Regions from separate parts of the Homo sapiens genome. Here regions 2, 3 and 4 are each linked to region 1. Evidence: promoter capture Hi-C in 16 types of primary human blood cells and fetal thymus (Javierre and others, 2016). All regions are on one chromosome and are shown on one strand. Each heading gives the region's core, a stretch centred on a gene start or on the middle of the fragment in contact. The rest is flanking DNA. Distances are from core to core; before and after follow the strand shown.

Region 1 (3,159 bases), core at 450-2,949:
AAATGTGTAAGACTGCATTTTGCCTATATACATAAAAAACTGGCCAGACGCAGCAGCTCACACCTGTAATCCCATCACTTTGGGAGGCCAAGGCAGGTGGATTACCTGAGATGGGGAGTTGGAGACCAGCCTGACCAACATGGTGAAAACCCATCTCTACTAAAAATATAATTAGCAGAGCGTGGTGGCACATGCCTGTAATCCCAGCTACTTGGGAGGCTGAGGCAGGAGAATTGTTTGAACCTGGGAGGCAGAGGTTGCAGTGAACCGAGATCATGCCTCTGCACTCCAGTCTCGGCGACAGAGTAAGACTCCGTCTCAAAAAAAAAAAAAAACAGTTAACATATATTAATTTTGGTTTTTATATTTTAGAACCATAGGCTTTTTTTTTTTTCAAGTCTCAAACATTTTCATAAGCAGCGTGCTATGGTGCTAGTGACTAAAACATTTCTGCCTACAGGGACTGGAAGTAGGAAAACAAGGAGGCAGTGCCAGTGGCGACCAGAAATTTGCACACCAGGTACAAAGGGTATTTGTCCTCAGCTCCAGCAGAGTTTCTTTTTTTTCTCTGCAACCATGTAAGGTTCTTCTAATGCAAAAGAAAAAAAAATCTGTCACATCTAAGGACCTTGAAAAGTTTTGTTTCCCTTGAGGAATTTGATATGCTTTTTCCTTATCATTCAGAAACATCAGTGTATAGTATGTTTTCCCAGTCTGCATTGCGCCCAGTAAGTTTCAAGCCAAAATTTCTGTTTAATTTTGGAACAATAGAAACTCCTGATCGGCACATTAAAAATTTTCTTTGATCTTGATCTTCCATACCCGTTGCTGCCTTTTATTTAATTTTACATTTCCTCTTGATTATATATCTTCCAAGCTGATTAAAATTTTCTACTAGCCAAAAGGAGTTTGAGCGAACAAAAATATTTACAGAGCCATCAGCCATCTATGAGAATACCTTTTTCTTGGCATTCCACACACTGCCAGGTGTTATTTGAAAAGTCTTTACTGATGTAATAAACCAGAAATGGTTTCTCATTGGGGTTTTATTTTGTATTTCTAAGATTACAGGTGAGAGTGAACATTTTCCCATATTTGTTAACCAGGTTTAAAACTGTTTGATTGGGACGTGGCTTATACAGGGACAAATGCAGCTAAGCCGACTGAAAGACAAATGAAACCCAGGAATATCTGGTTCTTACATTTTAGCTTTGACTCCGCCCCTGGGTCCCCTCACCTACCCGGACCCCAAGCAAGCCCTTTGTGTGTGTCAACCATCAGTGAATGGGATCTCAATCTGAAAAGCTGGCAGAATACCGTCTTGCCCCCAAATATGTGTATTATGCGTATATCCAGTGTCTGATTGCAATGTTTATGGGAAAAAGTTCCTGAATCCTAACCAAGACTGAGGCACTGGCCGTCCCCGGGAGTCTTTCCGCAGGCGCGGCCTCTGACACTCGGTCTTCGATTGGCCCGCCTGGCCCCGCAGGAGTCGGGGTGACGCCGGCCAGCCCAGAGCGGACGATGAGAGCTAGGAGTGGCTGCTTCTGCCTTTCTCTCCCCCTACTTTTTTTTTTTTAGCCATAGCTATGGTTACCACGTTTCTCTCCGCCTCCCGCCACCTACCAAGAAAACGACTGACCATTGGCTGCCTTTCACCAAGGCGGTAAGTCATTGGTCTCTGGTGGGACCGGGCGCTGCCCCCTTCCCCTGTCTCCTGGGTCTCTGGAGGAGCCCAGGAAGGAGGCTCCGCTGGTTCCGCTGGGTCAGGCGCTGACGGGACCGGGCTGCGGCAATCGTTAGCGGGTCATGTCGGCCGCCCAGGGCTGGGACAGGAACCGCCGGAGGGGAGGAGGCGCCGCCGGCGCTGGTGGCGGAGGTAGCGGGGCCGGCGGGGGCAGTGGGGGCAGCGGGGGTCGGGGGACTGGCCAGCTCAACCGCTTCGTGCAACTCTCCGGGCGGCCGCACCTGCCAGGTGAGTCGTGGGACAGGGTCCTGACCGCTTGCGGGCGGGAAGGTGACTGCTACCTTTTCTTTTTCTCCCTGGCTTGCTTTTCCTTGGGAGGAGGAAAGGCAGGCCCCACGCATAGCAGAGGGACTGGGGATCAGAGAAAAGGGAAGGTGTCTTTGAGGTCAGGGAGGGAACAGGAGCACAGCGAAGAAAAGTATCTGTGCTCTGTTGAAAGCTCTGTGCTGAGAGTTGTGTTTTCTTTTCAAAGGAGAGGCCACTGTCTCATTGACATTTCCAAATGTTTCGGTTACTCGATTCCCAATCTCTTCCCCTTCCGCAGTTTGATCTTGTAAATGAAAGACATTGGCGCCTAGCTGTGGGAAATTATTTCAAAAAGGGTGCCAAGTTAAGGAGAGAAGAAGGAAACGCATTCCAAGGAGTGATTTTGTAAAAACTACACGGGGCGTGTGTGTAAGAGGCATTCTGAAACGGAAGAAAGGGGTGGGGGAGTGTTGGCTGGGGAGTGTATGGGAAAGAGAACCTAGAGGATTAGGGAAAACTAGTTGGATTATTAATATTTTGGAATGTTCAGAGACAGGATAATGGTGTCTAGGTTTTAAGGGGAGAAAGTGAAGATCAAAAATATACTTAGTGACACAATTATGCTGTGTTTACAATATAAAAACAACTGAGAATTGGAAAAATGTACCCAATACAATTATTTGACATTTTGGTCTACAGTGCCCTAGCCTTGAGTTCAGATGCTTTTGAAAACAAAATAAAATCAAGTGGATATGTATGTGTAGACAATTTTAAAGAGGTATGTTTGTAATTGAATATTCAATCTAGTAGAAGGAAGGTAGGGAATTAAATAATGCAGAGAACGTCAAATATCCCACTGGGCAAGCTTATTTTTACTATGAAAAGAACTATCAGGAATGATGTGTTAATTATTCATCGTGTTTTTTGTGAATAATATTGATTATATTAGTGATATATTTGTTTAGCTGATGAGTTTTGAGAACATGATGAATTGGTTTTTATGAATTGTGCTTAAGACTGTACCTTATACTTCTAGTCAAAAATTATTATTTGATTAAATTGAAGATGACAAAGGGAATTTAGCACATTTAATGAGACAATTGCTTATGTTCGTGATGAGGTTGTTGATGTGTGCTAGAAATGTACATTACCCCATTTATATGCAT
Region 2 (3,159 bases), core at 488-2,987, 610 kb after region 1:
ACTTACTTTTGTGTCAACCTAATAATTTTAAGGGAAAGAAATCCATTTGAGTTATCTTAAATAATAGGTTTTTTACTGTAAGAGCACATGTGCCTAATAACTAAGATATAGATAACTATCCAGCCATAAGCAAAACCCTAGGAGAGCTGGACCTCATATCAGAAAAACAGTAACTGAAAAGTTATTTGGAATCCAAGACAGCACTAGTGAAGGACCACTGTCTTAATGCAAACATATCACTCACATGTTTCTCCTACTTTCTTCCTATCTGCTTCCTTCTTCTCCCTTTACCTTGTTCACTCCTCACCTTTACTCCATAAATATGTGTGTATATATATATATATGTATATATATATGGGTTTTTTTCTACCTATAGCTTCTGCTTATTTACTTCTACTTCCTACTTCCCTATAACTTCAGCCTTCCCATACTCGACTTCATGGCCTCTTCACTACCTTTCTTCCTCATGGTTTGAGTCTTTTTTTGGGGGGGGTGGGGTGGGGAGGGGATGGAATCTCACTCTGTTGCCTGGGCTGGACTGCAGTGGCACAGTCTCCACTCACTGCAACCTCCACCTCCCAAGTTCAAGCAATTCTCCTGTGTTAGCCTCCGGAGTAGCTAGGACTACAGGCATGTGCCACCACGCCTGGCTAATTTTTTGTATTTTTAGTAGAGACAGGGTTTCACCACGTTAGCCAGGATGGTCTCAATCTCCTGACCTCGTGATCTGCCTGCCTCGGCCTCCCAAAGTGCTGGGCTTACAGGCGTGAGCCACTGCGCCAGGCCGGTTTGAGTCTTCTAGCCTTACTCTTATGTGTCCTTTTAGCTTTCATTCCTACTGCTTCAATCTTTTCATTTCTCAATTCAGAGACCTGGAAACAAGAATCTGATTAGCTCAGGGATTCTGGATGTTGGTAGGTTGGTTGGTTTTTGTTTTGATTTGTTTTTTGTTTGTTTTGGTTTTAGGGTACCAATCCACATCACAGGTCACTACCCAGCCTATGAATTTTGCTTTGTTGGGTCTGATATCCTCCTCTGGTCTCAACTAGGAGTGGGGACACGGTCCTGTTGTACAAAATAGAACTTCTCAGGATATTCCCTTACTCAGGAGACTGTGGTAGGGTCAGTTTCACTTAGAAGGGGCTGTTAGTATGACAATCACTGTAATAGATATATCTAGTACATTCCATAACTTGCCTACTAGAACTCACAGTCTTTTTGGATGCATGCCTGGGCATAACAAAGAATGCTTTTCTTGTAAATGATTCTAGGTTTACAAAAGATTATCACATTTGTCCAGCAAGGGAAGGAAAGGATGCTGCATGAATATTAAAGAGGCATTGTAGATATCACACGTTTCAATCTTCTTGGGCTTGTTCCAGTCTGATAGCCCCATAAAATTACCATGGTGCCAGTCTTTGAGCCTTAACTTTATCCATTAGTACAATTTAACTGGTACCACAATTTGCTCATCAATATGATTAGATTCTGCACCTGAACTGGAGGGTTCACAAAGTGTGCAGGCTGTTGGAAGAAAGCTCTTCCCACACCCAGTTTACATGATAGCTTTGTATTTCCTTCTGCGCATTAAGCAGGGCAATCCTGGCCTGGCATTTATCCCTTTCTCAATGTATGGTCCACCCACTGCCATGAGAAACTACCAGTGAGCTTACCTTCAAAGGGCACAAATTCTGAGACCCAAGAGACCACATGCGGTAAATTCATTAACTCCTTTGTTAGTACATGCCATTGGATATTAGCATTTTATCTTCCACTTGAAGGAGAATCTCTCACTGTCATCCATCTAGGAACTATGGAAACACTAACTCCAAATTCACCACATTTTATTATAAGGGTCTCACTTGGGTAATCCCATGCCCAGCATAAAATTTCTACTAGAATCCTTTGTTTGCACTTTCACTTAACTCATTTATTTAATTTGTTCTTGTTAGATTAGACCCGCTCTTGAGGCTATCATGACCTTTTTTAGATTTTGATTCTTTTTTTTTTTTTTGAGACTGAGTCTCCCTCTGTCGCCCAGGCTGGAGTGCAGTGGTGCGATCTCGGCTCACTGCGAGCTCCGCCTCCCACGTTCACTCCATTTTCCTGCCTCAGCCTCCGGAGTAGCTGGGAGTACAGGCGCCCGCTACCACGCCCGGCTAATTTTTTGTATTTTTAGTAGAGACGGGGTTTCACTGGGTTAGCCAGGATGGTCTCAATCTCCTGACCTCGTGATCCACCTGCCTTGGCCTCCCAAAGTGCTGGGATTACAGGCGTGAGCCACTGCTCCCGGCCAGATTTTGATTCTTAAATATCTCATAATTAAATTTTCTCTACTTCCTCTGCTAATGATTTAGTTCAGGTCTTCAGTATCTCTCACCTTGACTATTTTAGTAACATTATAACTCATCTTTCTGGGTTTTGTCTCTTCCACAACTACTAATGCACCTTTCTTCAACCTCCAAAACAGTCTTCCTAAAATGCAAATTTGATTACATCCTTTTGTCTCCTGCCATTTACTCTATTTGCTTTTTCTTTTTTTTTTTGAGATAGAGTCTCGCCCTGTCGCCCATGCTGGAATGCAGTAGCGCTATCTTGGCTCACTGCAACCTCCACCTCCCAGGTTCAAGCGATTCTCCTCCCTCAGCCTCCTGAGTAGCTGGGACTACAGGCATGCAGCACCACGCATGGCTAATTTTTGTATTTTTAGGAGAGATGGGGTTTCACCATGTTGGCCAAGCTGGTGTCAAACTCCTTATCTCAAGTGATCTGCCCGCCTCAGCCTCCCAAAGTGCTGGGATTACAGGCGTGAGCCACTGCGCCTGGCCCTGCCATTTACTCTCTTACATCTTCCTGAATGCACCTCATTTTCCCATGTCTTCATGCTTTTGCTCTTTCCTCTGATTTGATATTTTCCTGTTCTTTTGTCATGGGTCACTTCCCTACTCACTCCCTTTTTCCCAACAGAAATACTGTATTCTACATTACTTCTGTATTTTGTATATTCTTCTATTACTTTAACATACCTCATTTATTGATCTTTCTCCTATTAGATTCCAAGTTCCTTTAAGACAGAAACTGTCCTGTAATCATCTTTATATTCTGGTTTTTAGCTTACTGTATCCTCAGCAATTGCTTGTTGAATGGAATTTGAATTTC
Region 3 (3,159 bases), core at 470-2,969, 580 kb after region 1:
ATGTTCTTTAAAGTGAGACTATATGGAATACGTAGATTGACTCCAACCCCCATTTAGCACTTTATGAAGACTTATTTATATCAGATGTTTCAAAAATATCTCCAAATTTTAAAATATTTTATAATATGATGATATGGTTAATTAAATAATTTTATCAATGGTAGACACGTAAGTTGTTTGTCCTTTTTTCTACTGTAAATGGTGTTGCAACAAACATCAATATATATAAGTTTTTCTGTGTTATGTCTGATTATTTTCCAAGGATAGTTCCACAGATGTGGCCTTACTAGGTCAAAGGGATAAAGCCTTTCAATTATTCAATAAATGTTGCTAAATTACTTTCTAGAAAAATTGAATCAATTTATTACTCTGTCTCCTTTGTACAAGAGTATGTCTCCCTTACACAAGTACTGAATGCTGCCTGTTTGCTTTTTTGCCATTTTGATGAGTAAAAAATATTATACCTCATTCTTGAATTTTTAATTTATGTTTTTTGGTTACTAGTGAGAACGACTATCTAAAGACGTTTAGATCCTTTATATTGGTTATTTGATGAATTATCACTTGTTTCTTTTTAAAAGTTCTTTATATATTACAGATGCTAGCCTTTGATGTATTTGTTGTAAATATTTTATTTCAGTGCACGTTATCTTTTACTTTTTAGTTTTATCCATTTTTATGAAAATTTTGATGCACTCAAATCTATCAGTATTATCTTTTGTAACTTCTTCCTTTGCTTTATCAGATAAGGATGGCTTTCACATGATGAAAACTTCATTTTAGAAAAGAATGCTTTAAGATATTATATTCTTTTAAATTCCTATTGGCTTTCTTATGGTCAAAAAATGAAATCAACAGAAAGCAAACAGCAAATATATAAGTATCTCATCCTAGATTTTGACCATTTACATACCTGCTTGTGACAATTATCACATCCTCAGAGATGGTAGCCATTTCTTTGATGGTAAGGTAGCACATTCTCCTCAATGTTTGCTGAAAAATCATTTATAAAAGGTAACAGATTATTGATTAGGAAATGGTTTTTTAAATTATTTGAAGTGAGGACCCCAAGTAGATATATATTTTAGAAAGATATTCTTTAAAAGAGTCTCATCTACCAAAAAAAAAAATTAATATCTGGGTGAGAAACTATTCAGAATACTAATATTTCCTAAACACAACTGATGCATTGACACAATAGGTAAAAACTTAAAAATTCAATTATATGGATCTTTCTACTGAGAGATACAAACTTAGACTATGATAGCTTGAGTCCAAAGACAAAGGTTTTTTGTTTTGTCTTGTTTTGTTTTTTTGAGACAGAGTTACGCTCTGTTGCCTAGGCTGGAGTGCAATGGCGCAATCGTGGCTCACCACAACCTCCGCCTCCGGGGTTCAAGCAATTCTCCTGCCGCAGCCTCCTGGGTAGCTGGAATTACAGGCACTCACCACCACACCTGGCTAATTTTTGTATTTTTAGTAGAGACGGCGTACAGTATTAATTAAAGGCTCATTCCTGGAAAATGTGCAAACTCTGCACTTTCCTCAGTTCAGTGTATACCAATGTTTCCTCCTGAACCCTAAATGAGATTTCTAGATGAATACCTGGATCCAAGTAAGTACTAAGCTAACAATGCTCCACCTACTCTCCCCGACTCAACTGGATCTCTGATTTATTCATACACTATGGATAAATGGGCAGCAGCCAGACACCAGGTTCCTCTAGTCTGTCCAGCCTCATCCCTTACTGAGTAACCTCAAATTTCTTTTAAGTAGAGAAACCCAAATACATCAGACGCAGCTCCAGAGTCCAAGCTATGGAGAAAACCTTGATACTACTGAACCCATTAAGGAAAGAAAAGAGAGTGAGGATCCTCGTGGTGATTAAAAACAGAAAAAAAACACACACAGAAAGCCAGTATAGGCACACACATGGGGCAGATCAAAGCTACTATGAGAAGAAAACAAAAAATAAGAATCAAAATTTCAGGAACACCCCACCCCAATTTAAAGAAAAAAAAAGTTCTGTGAGAAGCAGAAGAAAACTAGAGATACGAAAAAAATTTCATTAAAACACAAAAAATGGGGGCTCAACATTATTAGTCATCAGGGAAATGAAAATTACTTATCCAATGAAAAATTAAAACCACGTTTCAGAAACTACCTCACACCCACCAAAATGGTGAAAATTCAAAAGACAAACAACACAAAATGTTGGCCAAAAATGTGCTCTTAACCACTAAAACATACTGCATAAACAAATACACAGAAATGCTGAATAAAATCAGAACAAAAATTTTAAATGTGTAGCCAAGGACAAAATAAAGAGAAATTCACAGATGCTAGAAATGAAGACAACCAAACATTCACAGCCACAGAAGGATCTTACTGGCATGGAATATAGTATCTAACATCTACCAAAATGAGGTTCTAAAAGGTATATTCTTCAAGCACAAGGAAAATCATTCCAGAGTAACTCAGAAATAGAGCAAGGAATGAAGAGTTTTTAAAAAGTGCTAAAGACAGGAGTAAGTCACAATGAGCAAACAAGACTCACAAGAAAATGATGGCATAGAATATATTAATGTAAATGTGCACGTGTGTATGTATATATACACATATGTTGATATACTCATATACGTATAAGGAATCAGAGTATCCTAAGACTCTCGAATTTCCCATGAGTAGGGAAAACACAAAGATGAGTATTTGATTTTGATAAGTCAAAAACCCATTGCAATTTTGAATATAAACAATAAAAAAACTTCCAAAGTATTACCCCACAGGTTGCTGATGCTCTGTTTATTTCTACTCTGTCTTTTTTTCCTCTCTGCTTTATTTTGGACTTCTACTGCTGTCTTCAATGACCCTGGGTTTTTTTGTTTGTTTGTTTGTTTGTCCTACATCTCTAATTTGCTATTAACCCCATGCAGTGTAGTTTTCATTTTATATATTTCTTTTCTTTTTTTTTAATTTTTGGGAAGTGTATTTGGATCTCTTTGTATCTCTCCTATTTTATGCTTTATTCTTGTTATGCCTTTCTTTACAACTTAAGCATATAGATCATGTTAATAGTTGTTTTAATGACATCATCTGCTCATTCCATCACCTTTACCATTTCTGGGTTTGTGTCTGCTGATCCATTTTTCTCCTGTTTAT
Region 4 (3,159 bases), core at 301-2,800, 540 kb after region 1:
TAAACATCAAGAGGGCATAAACGCCCTCTCAAATAAAATGGGGTACTTTACACACAATTTCCAGTGAAGAATTTAATCTTATTCCTCTTAAGAATAACCTAATAAATATCAAAAGAGCTCTTTTTGACAAAATGGTTTCAAAGTTTCATAAAGTAAAAGCTGCTCCGTATGATTTTTATAATGCCTATAATCAAGGCCTCAGAACTTGGAATTATCTTTTTACACAAATTATTTTTCAAATAAAAGACTGCCACGAGCATCTCAATCTACTACTGAATATAACAATCTTTCCCAAATATTCCTACAAAGGGTCATCTAGCTTCTATGAAACACCTGAAGGGCAGTATTCAAATGGCAGTAATCATAATTAGTGAGATTCCTACTTCAGAATACGTACTAGTAGCTGCTTAATTTGCCTTTAGTTAATGTTTATCTAGGGAATCGATACACTGCCCCTACAATACAGGTTTAAAGAATGCTGATCCTGAGACAAGCTAATGTGATTCAATGACAATACCTGGACCATAATATTATCACTTGATGCAGCTTCTTGGGCTTCATTGATCCAGCGCTTAACCACATCATAGCTTATCTTCATCATGTGCTAAATACAGAAAAAAAAAAATGAGAATAAATAATGCTTGGTCACTAGAAGCTTAGAAACATGAGTTAGTTTTCTTTGAAAATCACAGACATTTCCCAAGAGGAAGAAAACTATGTAGCTCTTATAAGTCTATTTTGTGTCTTTACTCCTGGAGCAACTGATAAACCAGAAGTATTTTCTCCCATACCTGTTACAAAGGTGAGTATATGTAAGCTGGGAGAGGTGTGTAAAAGGAAGTAATGAAAGAGGAAGAACAGGATAGGGATGGACAGTCAACAGAACGGTGCTTAAATAACGTTATCATAACAAGCTTTACTTCCAGGAAACTCCCCTGGAAGAAAGAGAGTACTAGTATATTCTCTGCTATAAAACTCAGCCAATTATATTCCAGAATCAGGAACTCTTGTATTTAGATGTCTTACACATTCACATATAGGTAACTGACGTTAATCAAATGCAATGTGATAGGTTTTAATGTATAAATTGTGTTCTGCTGAAAAACGGAAAGAAAAATGTATTACTAAAAAAAAGACCACTTCCTGGGAGGAAATTCAGAAGTGGGACAGGAAACTTTGGATTGAAGGATACACGTAGACAAAGGGCACCAGAAAAAGCAGAGGACAAAGAGACAAGTAGTAGAAGTCATAAAGGCAGGTCATAAAGAAGATTTTAAATGAAAGAAAAGGGTCCTAGGTTTCTTTCCTGTCCCATACCCCACACTTACCCCTCTTTTATTATGTGTACAACATAACTTTCAGATTTCCAAAACCTTTCAAACATACGAACATTTTATGTTTTTAATTGCTCAATGATCCTATAGATCAGCAATCTCCAACCTTTTTGGCACCAGGGATTGGTTTTATGGAAGACAATTTTCCCATGGACAGAGGGCAGAGGGATAGTTTTTGGATGAAACTGTTCCACCTCAGATCATTAGGCATTAGATTCTCATATGAGGCCGGCAACCTAGATCCCTGCATGCGCAGCTCACAATAGGGTTCGAGCTCCTATGAGAATCTCACACTGCTGCTGGTCTGGCAGGAGGCGGAGCTCAGGCAGCAATGCTCGCTTGCCTGCCACTCACCACCTGCTGTGCAGCCCAGTTCCTGACAGGTCACAGACCAGTACTGGTCTGAAGCCCTGGGGTGGGGACCCCTGCTCTAGATAAAACACACTTGGATAAAGTAATAGAGGTGTATACATATTTTTAACTGTTTCATTTGTGAGACAATCATAGTGATACTTTGTTTTCGCAACTCAAAACTGTACCATGCTTAAGAACTAGGAAGCTGCTTGTTCACTTACCAGGGAAGATACCAGTGCTGAACTGGATACACTGGAAACTTTATCCACAATGGCCTGCTTCATGTATCTTTCAATGGCTTGCAACATTGTTCCCTAATAACATTCAAAAAGAAAAAATTGTTAAGGAAAAACATGCTTATGCAAAATTACTCTTATGCTTCAAAATAATTTTCAAAAACCAATCTTATATTTGTTTCTGTGCAAATATTCAGAATGCACTAAAAGGATGATAATATAGTAATAATATCCCAAAGGGCAGAACCCAAACAACGAAGTTGAAGCTTTAAGAAAGAACATTTAAGATTATATATAAAGAAGAATAACTGTTCAACAATGAAATAAACTGTCTCAAAATGGAGAATCTCAGTTTGGAAGAAATACACAAGCAGAGGCTGAACCCATCAGGAAAGTCATAAAGAAATTCCTATATGGAGATGGAGCCTGCTTTTGAAGTTATGAAGATTCCTCTATGTGAAGGGCACATATTATATACAGATCCCAGAGAGTCCTAGAAATCAAACGTAATCCCTGATTATCTGAGATACATAAAGAATTAAATGTGTAGTGTACTACTATAGTGAGCCCTCAACATAAAATCCTCTGGAAATACAGTTCTTTTTAACTTTAACTGGGAAAAAGCACTGGGAAGGTGGTGGCAGATAAAGATGAGTAAAAAGACTGAGAGCAATATTCAGATGAAAAAAAGAGTTTTATTGCTAGCACTAGCATGGTCAAGTCTCACGCTGCTACCAATGTAATGCAAAAAATAAAAAACAATCACAACAGAACAACAGTGCACCAAAAAATATTAAAGCATTTCTATTACTCCTTCTAGAATCCAGATTTATCAGATGTATAATTTGGTCCTGCTCAACCTTTACAACTTAAGAAGGTTACAAACATACACCTAAAATATACCCAAGCATGGGTATATAGCTATTATTCAATTTGCTTGGTAATGCCTGGCCTACCCTTCCTACTCAGAGTTCCCAGAAAGAGACAGCCTAACATACTACATGATCTCATCCCTCCAGATATAATGAACTGGATCAATGTTAAACACCTGACTCAGACACAGGTGGATATAAGCTACTGGCCTATTGCTGACTAATCAGATTCTCTCTCTTAAATGTTTCAATAAGAGGGCCTGTGTCTAGTACATGATGGATCACCACAGTGAATAGCCTGGCCAACATGGTGAAACCCTGTTTCTACTAAAAATACAAAAATTAGCTGGGCATCGGCCTGGT

The links. Contacts are between HindIII fragments. The CHiCAGO score rates a contact against its expected background, and 5 or more counts as called.
Region 2: a contact is called between a fragment that was not itself captured here and the fragment with the promoter of KLHDC10 in region 1, in 12 of 17 cell types (megakaryocytes, naive B cells, total B cells and 9 more). The highest score is 10.1, in megakaryocytes.
Region 3: a fragment that was not itself captured here is called in contact with the fragment with the promoter of KLHDC10 in region 1 in 1 of 17 cell types (megakaryocytes); the score reaches 6.4 in megakaryocytes.
Region 4: a fragment that was not itself captured here is called in contact with the fragment with the promoter of KLHDC10 in region 1 in 2 of 17 cell types (megakaryocytes and endothelial precursors); the score reaches 6.9 in megakaryocytes.

The regions. Positions count from the first base shown.
Region 1 is chr7:130,068,835-130,071,993 of GRCh38, forward strand. It overlaps KLHDC10 (kelch domain containing 10), which reads left to right and starts at 1,700. Exons shown (of 10, transcript NM_014997.4): 1 at 1,700-1,975. The coding sequence starts at 1,810. RefSeq lists enhancers at 1,215-1,414, 1,445-1,634 and a silencer at 1,735-1,904. The HindIII fragment of the contact is 10,740 bases long and covers 1-2,856 here.
Region 2 is chr7:130,674,897-130,678,055 of GRCh38, forward strand. The region is part of intron 5 of TSGA13 (testis specific 13); the gene reads right to left. Among named protein-coding and RNA genes, the nearest start is that of COPG2, 7.7 kb to the left of the region's middle. RefSeq lists an enhancer at 1,418-1,974. The HindIII fragment of the contact is 4,053 bases long and covers 1-3,159 here.
Region 3 is chr7:130,651,956-130,655,114 of GRCh38, forward strand. It overlaps COPG2 (coat protein complex I subunit gamma 2), which reads right to left. Exons shown (of 24, transcript NM_012133.6): 5 at 914-993. Among named protein-coding and RNA genes, the nearest start is that of COPG2, 15 kb to the right of the region's middle. The HindIII fragment of the contact is 5,306 bases long and covers 1-3,159 here.
Region 4 is chr7:130,611,635-130,614,793 of GRCh38, forward strand. It overlaps COPG2 (coat protein complex I subunit gamma 2), which reads right to left. Exons shown (of 24, transcript NM_012133.6): 7 at 1,910-2,002; 8 at 518-604. Among named protein-coding and RNA genes, the nearest start is that of COPG2, 56 kb to the right of the region's middle. The HindIII fragment of the contact is 1,276 bases long and covers 913-2,188 here.